Linked DNA regions of Homo sapiens: all the other regions are linked to region 1. Evidence: promoter capture Hi-C in 16 types of primary human blood cells and fetal thymus (Javierre and others, 2016). All regions are on one chromosome and are shown on one strand. Each heading gives the region's core, a stretch centred on a gene start or on the middle of the fragment in contact. The rest is flanking DNA. Distances are from core to core; before and after follow the strand shown.

Region 1 (4,630 bases), core at 733-3,232:
GCCCATAGTACAATGGGGAAGAAGAACACATAAACAGATGCCTTTAATAAACAGATATAAATGCAGTGATACAAGAACATGCATCATAATACGGAACCAATAAGCAGACCACACTCAGCTGGGGTCGGCCAGGAGGAGCTTTTCAGAGAAGGGCTCCTCATTGTCGTTGATGATTATAATTTAAGGGATGAGGAAAAATGAGGTGAAAAGGTGGGAGAGGCCAAAGGGAGGGTCATTCCAGACAAGTCAGTGCAAACAAAGACACAACAGAAGTAGCTCGATGTGTGTAGGAGAGCTGCAAGGCACATTCACGGTATAAAGGGTGTGGAACAAATTGGGGGAGCTTATTGAGGATCTCTGTGCCTGGCATGGGCACTGTGAGTGGTGAGAAGCCTGTGAGCAAGCGCAGAGGGAAGGCCTGACCTCCCAGCCCATCGGCAGTGCTCTGGTTGTGCCCACCTCTCCCCCAGCAAACTGCCTTTCCTCATTCCTTAGCTCCATCTCTACAGTTGGAGATTGGCACTAAGGGGCTATGAGGGAACCTCGTGAGGACTTGTCCTTCCCTTTGTTGGTCAGTGGCCATCTGGTGTCTGAAGAGAACCGCTGGCAGCTGCAGTGCCTCTGCTACAGCCAGGCTGTCCCAGCTGCTCACAGACCTCAAGCTCAGCCATCCTTCTCCCTCCACTGGCCTTGACCCAGACTTTCCCTGGCATTCTGACTAGGGAACCAGGACCCCTGCTCCTGGGGTCTGGACACAGACCTTCCAGAAACGCAGATGAAGAGCCCTGGCCATGCTTGTCAGGGGCATATCCTCACCCTGGCTCAAGAAATGGCAGGCTATCTGCATGAATCACAGCTGGGCCTTTCATAGTCAGTTCCACATTCTCCTCTCCCAACTGAACAAAGTTGAAAGGGACTGGGATCCCAGGCTAGGCAGGATGCTGTGTTGTTTGTGACAGCCACTCTACCCTCTGCCACCCCATCCCCCACTTCCCTGCCTTTCACAGCCTATATGCCTGGTTGGTACCCAGTAAACTTCACAGCAGGACTGATGTTTGGCATGTTTCCTGGCCTCTTCATGCCACTACTGATAGAGGAGCCACTATCTCTGGTCTCCATCCTGATGTCATGTGGAGGCCTACTATCTGTGGATAGAGTTACTGCTGACAAGGCAGCCTGAAGCTTTAAAGTGTATCCATGCCTTCAACAAAGATTGTTGCAGGCTGTCTAGTATTCTACATTGGTGCCCCAAGGTTCTGTGCCTTTGAGGAGAAATTCCCACAGAAAAACAGCTTGTTCGCCAATAGCTCCACAGCAGCCTAACACTCCCCTTCTTCCAGTAGAGAAGACCTAAGATGTGAACCTACTCTCCCTGCGCAGGCTACAGACTAAAGGCTAGACTCCGCAGTCTGCCTGTCACCTCCTCTCCCACTATATATTCCTACCTTGGTGTACCCTCTTCAGGCGCCTGGAGCTGCACCTCATTGCTGTGTGTGTGTGATTTGTGGTTGTGCACATGCTCTCCACTTTGTCAAGGACCACTTTTGTCAGCATACTGCTGTTCTTTCTTCAAGACTCAGCTTCTTCAGCTAGCCCTGCCCACTCTCGGCAGAGTCAGTCCCTTCCGCTTGTGCTCCCACATTGCCTCTTGCTCAAAAGTACTTACCATAACCTTTCCAGGCTAGGCGCCTCCAGCTCCTTCTAGGGGCGAGCCACCACCTCAGAACTCACTATATTTGCAAAATAAACAGCCCTCAGCATTGTAGAGGGAATGGCCCAAAATCTTAGACCCAGTTCAACGCTCCACTTCGCGGTAATCATCTTGCTCAAGTTTTCACCACAGCCTTGCCTAGCCTGGGCTACTCTTAGGGCAGGCTTGGAAGGAAGTGCAGCTTCCTGAATTAGCTGATGTTTGGTAAGTGGTGGTGGAGGAAAAGGGTGGGGCTTGAGGATATTATAACTCGGGTCACCCCTGAGTGTTGCTTTTGGTCATTGGGGTGCCTCATATTGCCAGACAAGAGCTCAGACCTGAGGAGAGTGACTAGCTTCTCTGTGTCCCAGGTAAGCACTTCGGTCTAATTACTGCCTGCTCCTTCCACAGCTGTCTTGTCCTCATCCCTCCTGTTTGGCTCACACCAGGGGAAGTGGACACTGGAAAGATTAAGCCAGCTGGTTCTCTTTCTTTGTTTTTGAGATGGGGTCTCTCTCTCTATCACCCAGACTGGAGTACAGTGGCACAGTCAGGGCTCACTCCAGCCTTGACCTCCTGGGTTCAAGTGATCCTCCCACCTCAGCCTCCGGAGTAGCTGAGACTACAGGCGCACACCACCACACCCAGCTAATTTTTGTTATTTTTTTCTAGCGATGGCGTTTTGCCATGTTGCCCAGGCTAGTCTCACATTCCTGGGCTCAAGCAGTCTGTCTGCCTCAGCCTCCCAAAGTGCTGGGATTACAGGTGCAAGCCACCACACCCAGCCTGCCAGCTGGTTCTCGATGGCAGCTCCCAACATCAGTAGAGGTCCCTGGGGTACTTTTCAGGAGGAAAACTCACTTCGTGTAGCCCATTCAGCTAAGGGAAGCCACGGGGCCCTTAGGCAAACAGACCCTGGGCTCTGGGGATACTGCAGTGAAGGAGACATGTCCCTCCCCACAGGGAATCTCAGTGGGAAGAGACAGAGCTGAATACATTTACCTAGCATATAAATATTAGGGCTACTTGGGGATTGCTTCACAGATTCTGTCATGTAAAAATGCTGAATAAATATTGAATGGATGAGGGAATGAATGAGTGAGTGAATGAATAAATGAACTAGCTGGGCCTTGAGAAAGACACGTGTGTAGCCCTTAGTCCTTTTCGAAGGTAATTGCCCCAGTTACCTCATTTTATCCTTGAAATAGACCTGCAGCATAGAACAAGAATTCCACACCCCTATTTGACAGATTTGGAAACTCAGCATAGGTATGTATGGTTTGGGGAGATTTATCAGAAGCTGATTTGTTGCTTTATTAAATAAAAAACTACCCACTCCCCTTGCTTCCAATTTTGGAAAGGCACATTAGCACATACCTATACCAGACCCTGTGCCGGCCATGAGTGCAGAGGTGATCAAGTTGGGTGGGGTAAGGAGGTGAAGAAACTAGAAGCAGAGCTATCAGTTTAGGAGGCTGTTGTAATAATCAGGCCGGAGGATGGTCTGGTGCAGTGTGTGGGAATGGGGAGGAGGGGATGCAGAGGAGAGCTCTTAGAGAGCCTGAGATCCAATTGCATAGAGGAGGTGAGGGTGAGGGATGCGCGCAGGCAGCCCGAACGGCCGTGTGAGTGAGCACACTTCGATGTCTCCAGTCAAGGTGGAGAACAGAAGAGCTTTGTGGGGGTAAGGTGATGGAAAAATGAGTATGGCTTTGTTGAATTTGAGGAGCTTCTCCACCATCCAGATAGTGATGTCTAACAGACCACTGGGATTTAGGATTTGGCTGAGGCCAAAGGTAGATTTGGGAGCCCTGACACAGCTATTAATGAAACCTTGGGAATGGGCGAGATAAAGGGAGTGTAGAGGGAGGGCATGACCGAAACTTGGGAACCCCATTGTCTGAAGGAACAGAAATTACTGATGAAGACTACGAGAGACTCAGGAAGGAGACCTAGGAGAGACTGGCCGTGAAAGCCAAGGACAGGGGGAATTCTGTAGCAAAGAGAATGACTACTGGCTTTGCATGCCTGAGAGAGGGCAGCAGAGGTGGGGACTGAGGAAAAGGCTTGGGATTGGGCAGTTAGGAGGTCACCAGTGACCACGTGGAGGGCAAATTAGTGAGCATAGTGGGAGTAGGCAAGGAGGGGAGTGTAGGGGTGGGAAGGTACTATATTTCCAGAAGTTCTGCTGTTGCAAGGAAGGGAGGTAAAGTGACTCAGTGGACAGATGTCTCTTCCCATATTGGGCCCTCTGCTGTGTTTCCCTTTTCCCCCACCCCTAAAGAGCACCTGACTCACTGAGGGCTCCCTTGGGACTATGGAAACAGCAATACCACCTCCAGCTCGGATGAGCGAAGTATCTGACATTTCTACAGTTCCTTACAGTGTGCAAAGGACCACTAACTCCTTTAATCCTCACAAGAACTGAGCTTTTCATGTTATAGAGGAAATGGAGAATCATAGAGTTTCAGTTCAGATTCAACTACATAAATCTGAATGCACATCTGAGCAAGTTCCTTTGCTCTCGTGATCTCATTTGCCCCACACAACCCTTTGATACATGTTGGTCCCATTTCACAGATGAAAAGCCTGGAGGTTGAGATGGGGTGCAGCTGCCTTGTGGAGAGCAGGGTTCCCACCTCTGAGTACAGGGCTCTTTCTGCTCTGCATCACTTCACTGTTAAAACCCACCTGATGTTTATGTTGCACACTACATCTCATAAAGCATTTCCCCAGGTGTTATTCTATTTAGTGCTCACAACAACCTTGTGAGGGTAGATATTATTTCCTCCTGTTTTATGGATGGAAGCTGAAATTCAAAGAAGTCATAAATGACGTCCAAGGTCAGGTCACTAGTGGAACCCCTTTCTGAAGCACAGATCCACCCCTGTCCATGACCCCTGTTGCCTTCAGGATGAAATTCATGTGCCTTAGCCTGGC
Region 2 (4,630 bases), core at 1,123-3,622, 210 kb after region 1:
GTGAGGTAGGCAGGACAAGAGAGGGACTAGCTGAGCCTGAGAAGGGCCGGCTGGATACGCCCTACCCCAGGCTGCAGACATTTATTAAGCACCTGGGGCGTGCCTAATACTCAAATCTTTGTCCCATATCCTTCTGAAAGCCCCCAGTGGCTTCCCTTTTGCATTTAGAATAATGCAAAACATGTCACTGTGCTTACCAAGACATGTCACCTGGCCCTGCCCAACTTGCTGGTCTCACCTCCACCCTCACTCATTGCCCTCCGGCCCCCTGGCCTTCCTCCCCACAATCCCTGTCCTCTTCACACTCAGGTCTCAGCTCCAGCGCCACCTCCTCACAGCCCAGTCACAGAGACTCCGTGCCATGTGCACACCAGTCTCTATCACATCACCTCCCTTTTTTTCTTCCTAAGACTTTTAGGAAGCCTTGTCCACTCTCAGATGGCTTCCTGTTTGTGGGCTCATTGTCTCTCTCACGCAATGAGATGTAAATGCAAACAGAATGAGGGCCAGGCGCGGTGGCTCACCGCCTGTAATCCCCCCACTTTGCGAGGCTGAGGCAGGCAGATCACTTGAGCTCAGGAGTTCGAGACCAGCCTAGCCAACATGGTGAAACCCTGTCACTACCAAAACAAAACAAAACAAAACAACAACTTTAGCCAGGCATGGTGGTGCATGCCTGTAGTCCCACCTACTTGGGAGGCTGAGGTGGGAGGATTGCTTGAACCCAGGAGGCAGAGATTGCAGTGAGCCGAGATTGCAGCACTGCACTCCAGCCTGGGTGACAGAGTGAGACTCTGTCTCAAAAATAAATAAATAGATAAGGAATGGGAACCTTATCTCTTGTTCACTGCTCTGCCACCAGCACCTAGAGGACTTCCTGGTACACAACATGAGTGGAATGAATATTGATAAATATAATTAGCTCCAGTGAACAGTAAAGGAAACTGAGGCCTAGAGAGTGTATTAATCAGGGCTGTGTTTGTGAGTAACAGAATGCCCAACTAATACCCAGAGGTGGGTGATTGCTGGCACTGGCCCAGTTGCTCAGTGATATCCTTCCAGGCCAGGGAACTTCCCATCTTCCTGCCAGCCTTAGGACATTACTCTTAGCTTGCCCCTCATGGTCACAAGGTGGCTGCTGCTGCTCCTGACATCATGTGGCCTTCTAAGCCGGAAGCAGAGGAGAAGGCCAAATTCTGATCCAGCTGAGTCTATCCCTCTTTTTACTGGGCCCTTTCCACTCCCAGAACACCCTCAAAGATTCTTTCTCCAGCTCATTGGCCAGATTGGTGGCACTTGCCGCAAGAGAGATTGGGAAACTGAGCTCTCCAGGCTCCGCCTTAGAGGAAAGCAAAGAGAAGAGGGTTGGACAGGAAAGTGGGCCAGCCTCAGTGACAGCCATGGGGGGGTGAGGTGACTTGCCCATGGTCACAACTACACAACTGCTGGCTGACTCCAGGGTCCATCCCTATTTGTCATACCCTGGTGCTTCCCTCCTGGCACCTGTGTCAGAGAGAGAAGGCACTAGAGCAGATAGCGCAGGTGCCCTCAGGTCTGTCGCCTGGCCACGTGCAGTTGTGTCTAAGCTGCCTGTCTTGATCAGCTCCCAACATCTGCCTCCTTCCCACGACACACCCCAGTGCTCCGGCCACAACAATCCACCCAGTGCTCCCTGACCCACCCAGTCCCTAAGCCCTCCTCTGGCTCTATTCACCTGTTGCTCCTGGCCAGAGTCCCTGCTCACCCTGCAGCACTCCGCTCATCCTTCCAGGACCAGCTCAAATGTTGCCTCCTCCAACTCTTTCTCTTCTCCCTCTGTCATTTGGCACACATGACGTGCCTAGGTCAGCTCAGGGTGCTCCAAGGTACCCTTATATAGCTGACACTCCAGAGGAAGAGACAGGCCATAAGCAAATAAACAACAAAATAAGACCATTTTACAAAGGCACCAGTATTGTAATAAAAACAAAGCAGGGTGATGTGTTAGACACTGGGAGGTTGTGCCAGGCAGAATAATAGCCCCCCAAAGATGTCCTCAGTCTAATCCCTGGAACCTGTGACTATGTCAGGTCACACTCCAAGGAGAGTTAAAGGTGAAGATGGACTTAAGGTTGTGAATCATAAAGAATCTGGCTGGCCTTTGTACCCAGTTCCTGGGAGGTAGCCTCTAAATCCTTAGAATTTCCTGAGTGATGGGTGTCTTGTTACTTGCAGTCACTCAGACAATAGCTGTTACTTTATGCCAAGGAGGTGGCTCAGGATCAGGGCTGGACATGCCAGAAAGACCAGCCCTGTGATGAGAGGGTGGGGCTGTGAGCCACACATGATATCAGCCCGACCTCCATGGAGGAGAGGGGGATGGAGATGGGGTTCAGCTTCACGGCCAATGATGCAGCCCATTCAAGCAATTGTGTCCATGTAATGAAACCCCAATAAAAACTCAACACCAAAGCTCAGGTGTGCATCCCTGACTGACAATACTCTGTTTTGTCACACGTTGATGTCTCAGAGGGGGATGCGTCCTGACTCCACAGGGAGATCATGATGGACACTTCATGTTTGGGACTCTCCCAGACCTCACCCTGTGGGTCTGTCTCTTGGGTTGGTTCTGATTGTATCCGTTTATCATCGTAAGTATAGCCCTTTCCTGAGTTCTGAGTCATTCTAACAAATTATCAAACCTGAGGGTGCAGTGAGAGCCCCTGAATGTGTAGGCAGCTGGTGAGAAGTGGGGGTGGCCTGGGGCCCCTTGCTCCTGTGGCTGGTGTCTGAAGTGAGGGCAGTCTTGCGGAGGAATGTACCCTTAGCCTGTGGAGTCTGGCCTAATTCCAGGCAGTTAGTGTCAGAAGCCATTGCAGGTGGCTCATGAGCTGACCTTGAGTTGGGGACGTTGTCCTGAATTATCTGATAGGCCCAGTAGAATCACAAGAGTCCTTAGAGATGGAAGAGGGAGACAGAGGGAAGAGAACCAGAGAGTGAGAGTGCAGGAGGGACTCAGCCCAACTTGAAGGGGGAAAAGGGGGCCATGAGGATGGGGGAGGACAGGTGACCTCGGGCAGCTGGAAGAAGCAAGGAAACAGACTCCCCCTACGAGCCTCCAGGAAGAACACAGCCCTGCCCACACCTTGATGTTAGTCCAATGGGACCCAGGTTGGACTTGTGTCCCCCAGGACCGTAAGATATAAGTGTGCATTGTTTTAAACATCTAATCTTGGGGTGGTTTATTACAGCAGCAACAGGAAACTCATACAAGGATGCTACTTTGTGTGGGGAGGGTCAGGGAAGGCCTCTCTGAGAAGGTGGCAATTAGGGTGAAACTTGACCCTCCTCCTACCCCCTTATGTCACGCTGTTGCTGGCTTTGTTTGGAAGATGCCCACAAATGTGGACCTTACCGGATTCCGCTTTGTACACCCACAACTTACTGGAGACCAACAGGGACTAAGTTTTCAATAATGTTTTTCCTCACAGTAATTTATTTATTTGTTTATTTATTTAATTTCTTGAGACTGAATCCCACTTAGTCGCCCAGGCGGGAGTGCAGTGATGTAATCATAGCCCACTGCAGCCTTGAACTCCTGGGCTGCAGCAATCCTCCTGCTTTGGCCTCCCAAGTAACTGGGACTACAGGCGTGCACCACCATGCCCTGCTATTTTTGTTGTTGTTGTTGTTGAGACAGGGTCTCCTTATGTTGCCCAGGCTGGTCTCGAACTCCTGGACTCAAGTGATCCTCCTGCCTCATCCTCCCAAAGTGCTGGGATTACAGGCGTGAGCTCCCATGTCCAGCCATGGGTCAGTTTTCATGGGAACATAAGTTTTCATTTCTGTAGAGTAAATCCCCAGGAGTGGAATTGCTGGGTCACATGGTAAGCATATATTTAACTTTATAAACAATTGATAAATCAATTTCCAGACGGGTGGTGCCATTTTGAGTTCTCATCAGCAATGTGTGAGCATTCCACTTGGTATTGTCAGAACTTTTATTTTATTCATTCTAGTGGATGTGTAGTTGTACCTATTGCCCTAATGGATAATGATGTTGAACATCTTTTCATATGCTTATTGGACATCTTTATATCCTCTTTTGTAAAGTATCTGTTCAGATCTTTTGTCCAGTTTTTAAATGGGTTTTTTGTTTTCTTACTGATGGCAGCAGTGGCTCCATCATGCCGGCTGCAGCAGGGAGTCACAGCCAGGGCTGCACAGGTGGGGACAGACAGGAGTCCCACCCTTTCCAAGCTGGGGTAGGAGCTCCCCAGGTGACATTGCAGCCACCCAAGTCCTGGCTGCGGATCCGAGTCTCCCTGTGCTCTTGTGGGGCCAGGAACAGACAGGAACCCTGCCCTCCTGGGTGCAGCTGCAACCGCCCAAACCAAGGCTGCAGACCTGGGCTTCCCACTCCAGGAGCAGACAGGAGCCCTGCCCCCACCCCCCACCCCCAAACTGCTGCTGCAGGCTCAGGCATCCCTGCACTCTTGGAGGCTTGGGAAGTCCCCCTGCCCTTGCAGGCTTGGAAGTGCCTGCTCCCCTTGCCTGGCTTCTCCTTGCTATCAGGGCTGAGCCCAGTGCCATGAACTGCAGCAGGAGGCAGACAAATTCCTGGGCAGAAGGCGGCAGTCCCCAGTGAGGC
Region 3 (4,630 bases), core at 569-3,068, 190 kb after region 1:
ATGGGAATTATCTTAAGAGTTCAGTCCTCTCCACCATGGGAGGCTGAGGCAAGAGGATTGCTTGAGTCCAGGAGTTTGAGATCAGCCTGGGCAACATGGTGAGACCCCATCTCTACAAAAAATATATATATATATATATATACAAAAATAAAAAAGAGTTCAATCTTTCCACATTCTAAAGTTTGGATGTGAGCTTTCAAAACAGCTGTGGATGCCCTCTGTCTCCAGGGCCCCAGGGCTCCCCACTGCCCAGCTCAGGGCCTGGAAGCTGTCCTGAACTGGGTCTTCCAACAGGTGTGTTGGAGGACTCCAGCTCACTACAGTTTTCTAACGAGTTACTCACCAGACTGTCTTCAGGGAACAGAAACTGATTAAAAACCAGGCGTGAAATGGCTCATCCTACACAATGCGTATAATAAATATTGATAACAACAACAACGATAATAATAATTTTGCCTACATTTCCCAGGTTGTCTAAGGAAGTGTCAGCAGCACAGTTACACACTGGAGAACATGCAGCATTCGGCTGCCTTAGAATAGCCTCCTTTGGCTCATTAGAGGGGTGTGTGCCCAAGGACAGGGGGCAGCATTTGTTCAGCTCTGGAATTTCCAGCGCGCAGCAGCTCCACACATCATGCCGAGGTGTCCTACGCGTGAGGGAGCCCTTGAGGTCCCAGCATGGGGAAAGCTCCTGTCTAATCGATGGGAGGGTGTGTCGAATTGTTCATTTATCCAATCAGTATTTATTGAGCGCCTACTGTGTGCCAGGCTGTGGATACTCAGAATGAAAACAACTCGGGGTCAGCCCTTGTGGAGTTTCATCTGCTGCAGTGGAAATGGCAAACTAACAAAACCCAAAGCAATCCTGAGAACTTGTTAGAAATGCAGATTCCCAGGCCCTACCTGGACCTGCCTGCTGAGGAGCTGTTCTGCTGCCCAGCCATCTGGATGTCCCAAGCCCTCCTGATGAATCTGATGGACGCTTTAATGGTGCAAGAGCTGGGACCTGAATGACAAGGAGTGGTGAGCCTTGACAAGCCCCAGGGGAGTGTTCTGGACAGAGGGCACAGCTGGGCACGGTCCTGTGCCAGGCAGAGGGCCTGTGTGAGGGAGAACCGAGCGATGGGGCCAGTGAGCTGCAGCCTGGAATAGTGTGGGTGACACCGGGGCAGCTGGCAGGGGCTTCTCAGACCTTCTAAAGACATTTGGATGCCGTTCCAGAGGCGCCACTGCTCTCACCTGCTTCCTGGCCTGGCCTGCTGTGGTGTAGAAACCTTGGACTTCACCTTCGCCTTCTTTCTGGGAAAAGGGCAGAGATCGGCTGTAACTCCTGTCCTATGTCTCAAGAGTTTTCACATTCCATCCAGTGCCCAGCTGGGTTCACTGGTCACTTCTCTCCACCAGTCTAGGAGAGTGGGAGAGGGATGGAGGAGAGACTCCGATTTTCCTAGAAACAAAGAAATGGGTGTGGAGGCGACAAAGGTGGTAGGATCGTAGGGAAAGGCTGGGAGAGCCCCGAAAAAGCAAGCCATGGTGTCAGGATGCTGGAGGGGCAGAAGCCTGGGAGTAAGTAAGGAGAGACTCAGTCACTGTCCCAGTGCCTATGGAGAGACTGGATAGGCCCTGGAACCACCTGTCAAGCTCTCTGGCCACTGGAGACTGGCGTGAGCCCCTTGTCACTCCCTCCCCGCTCCATCCTGCTGCAGTGGTGAGGCGCAGAGCAGTGCAGTGTGGCCGCTGCTAAATCCCTCCCAAGCCACCTCACTGGGCACTCAAGCGACGTGCAGCCCCAGGGGACAGACACGAGTCCCAGGGACCCCATTGGGACAACTGTCCTGCAAGTCAGCTCTTAAGCCCAGCCCATGGGCACTGCCTCAGAGGGCAGGTCAGCCCCCCTTGGAGAAAAGGCTCCTGCCCTGCTTGTTATTCCAGCAGCTCTGGCTGGGAGCAAAGACAAGCCAGCCTGCCAAGCAGACGTTCCCTCCCAGCAGGTAGGCCACAAAATGCAAGGAGGGCTTGAAGACCTCAGAAATTTGGAACTGGTTGGGTGCGGTGGCTCACATCTGTAATCCCAGCACTTTGGGAGGCCAAGGCAGGAGGATCACTTGAGCCTGGGAGTTCGAGACCAGCTTGGGCAATGTAGTGAGACCCTGTCTCAAAAAAGAAAGAAAAAGAAGGAAAGAAAGAAAGAGAAAGAAAGAAAGAAAGAAAAAGAAAGAAGAAAGAAAGAAACGAAGGAAGGAAGGAAGGAAAGAAGGAGGGAGGGAGAGAGGGAGGGAGGGAAGGGAGGGAGGGAGGGAGGAAAAGAAAATAAAAAAATCAGAAACAGCACATCATGAGCTCTGTGAGACCACTCGTTCCCTCTTCCCATTTTCAAAGTCTTTCTTGAGCACCCACATGCACTGGGGACTGTTCTGGGCCCTGAGGATCCCCCGTCTGTGAATAAGACAAGATAGGTCCCCTCTTCCCTGGAACTTCCCGTCCTAGTGGGATGAGATAATAACACGAAGCTAGTAAACGGGAAAATGACAGTGAGGATGCTGTAGGGTGATGCTTCCGGGGGCGGAGGGCTATTAGGCAAGGCCCCAGAGGACCTGACATTTTTGCTGAGACAGGGATGATGAGAGGGAGCAGAGGGACCTGCAGGAAGAGCATCCCTGGCAGAGGAACGGCGAGTGCAAAGACCCTGACAGCAGCGGGCCCATTACCCCCTGCAAGGAAGCCAGGCCTCAGAAGAGGTGGCAAAGTCACTGTCCATTTCCCCCTGGAACAAGCCCAACTACTCACCTACATGGGGTTTCTTCTGGTACCAAGGAATAGTCAGAAAAGAGACCAAATCAAATAGAAGCAGCTTAATATTTTCAGGCTGTTTGCAGGCCCCTGGAGCTCACATTTGGAGGGCTGGGAGGGGGTACCGGCAGAGAGGTGAAGCCAGGGGTTATAGAACGCATCAGCCAGACACAGTGAGGATCCCAGCTCTATTGCTCACCAGCTGTGTGACCTGGGCAATTGCTTCCCATCTCTGGACCTGCATTTTCTCACCTCTATCTTGCTTTTTCGGTTTTTTTTCTTTTTTTGAGACAGGGTCTCACTCTGTCCCCGAGGCTGGAGTGCCGTAGGGCCATTACGGCTCGCTGCAATCTCCGCCTGCCTGGCTCAAGCAGTCCTCCCACTTCAGCCTCTTGAGTAGCTGGGACCACAGGTGTGCACCACCACACCCAGCTAATTTTTGTATTTTGTGTAGAGACAGGGTCTCGCTATCTTCCCCAGGCTCGTCTCAAACTCCTGGGCTCAAGTGATCCTCCTGCCTCGGCCTCCCAAAGTTCTGGGATTACGGGCATGAGCCACCGTTCCTGTCCTCTATCTTGTCAAGTGTAATTCCTGAAAACGGTATTTATGAAGCACCTGGTAGAGGTAGCTCCTCCATCCACAGTGGCTGTGATTGCAACACCCAATTTCGAGCCACGCTCTGTGTTGTTCTGCAGGGCTTATTAAGCACCTCCTGACCACAGGAACAGAAGAGGGCATGATTCCCGCACCCAAGCTCTACACAGGGAGGAAGAGGCATCTGTGGAGAGCAAGGGAAGCACACGGTGCTGGCAGAGTCGGAGAGGACAGGGTCACTGGGGCTGTTGTCTCTCTCTGCCCAGCTTATGGGACTTCTTTTCTTGAAACAGAATCCATGCATCAGAAGTCTCCCCTCCTCCTCCCTTAGTTCCTGCAGATCTGGTGGGGCTCCCCCTCCACCAGGGTCAGGGGTACAATCGGGACCAGACCTGACCTTTCAGCCCTGTGGGCCCCACCGCTCCACGGTGATTGGTCAGGGGTGGAGTAAGCATCAACCCTGGGGCCTTGGCAGAACCCTGGGCAAAGGTTTCTCTTTCCACAGGGGTTGCTAACTGCAGGATGGGCACCTGGACTACTGGGGCCATCCCTCTCCTCCTTGCGGAGGGCCTTCTGAGAATGAAGTCACATAGAAGCCAGAAGAGCCCAGAGATGGAGACCAAGCACCCATGACACTGTTGGAATCCCGGGAACCACCCAGGCCCGGTCCAGCAGCACCATCTCTGGACTTTAAACTGATGTCAGACAATTCTCTTTCAGCTCATGCCAATTTTAATTGGGTTTCTGTTATTACTTGCAACCAAAGATTCCTGACTGATTCAGAGGATTTCGTTAGGAGAGTTAGAGCTTGAGCTTCCGAGAAGGATCTGAATCAATGATTAGGGAGGGACAAGAGTGTGTATTAGGGAATGATAAGAAATGAAATTGAGAGGTGGTATGGATGTGTGTTTGTTGCTGCCCCAGCATCCATTTCCTCCCCTCCCCCTTCCTCATAGAATCTGAAATGTCCTAGTCATGGATTTTGGTAAAATTGACCCCAAATGCAGCTTCAAGGGTGGGCCCACGTTAGCTTAGCTGATAGCATTTTCCATCCCCATGTCCAGGTGGAGATAACTGAATCATGGAGGCGGTTTCCCCCACCCTGTTCTCCTGACAGTGAGTGAGTTCTCATGAGATCCGATGATTTTATAAGGGGCTTTTCCCTTTTTTGCTCAGCACTTTTCCTTTCTGCTGCCATGTGAGGAAGGATGTGTTTGCTTCCCCTTCCACCATGATTGTAAGTTTC

The links. Contacts are between HindIII fragments. The CHiCAGO score rates a contact against its expected background, and 5 or more counts as called.
Region 2: a fragment that was not itself captured here is called in contact with the fragment with the promoter of HK3 in region 1 in 1 of 17 cell types (endothelial precursors); the score reaches 5.6 in endothelial precursors.
Region 3: a contact is called between a fragment that was not itself captured here and the fragment with the promoter of HK3 in region 1, in 1 of 17 cell types (endothelial precursors). The highest score is 7.2, in endothelial precursors.

What each region holds. Positions count from the first base shown.
Region 1 is chr5:176,896,698-176,901,327 of GRCh38, reverse strand. It overlaps HK3 (hexokinase 3), which reads left to right and starts at 1,982. Exons shown (of 19, transcript NM_002115.3): 1 at 1,982-2,061. RefSeq lists an enhancer at 661-1,162. The HindIII fragment of the contact is 6,874 bases long and covers 1,185-4,630 here.
Region 2 is chr5:176,688,194-176,692,823 of GRCh38, reverse strand. No RefSeq gene overlaps it. Among named protein-coding and RNA genes, the nearest start is that of TSPAN17, 43 kb to the right of the region's middle. RefSeq lists an enhancer at 1-84. The HindIII fragment of the contact is 5,662 bases long and covers 1-4,630 here.
Region 3 is chr5:176,706,974-176,711,603 of GRCh38, reverse strand. No RefSeq gene overlaps it. Among named protein-coding and RNA genes, the nearest start is that of LINC01574, 34 kb to the left of the region's middle. The HindIII fragment of the contact is 6,145 bases long and covers 1-4,630 here.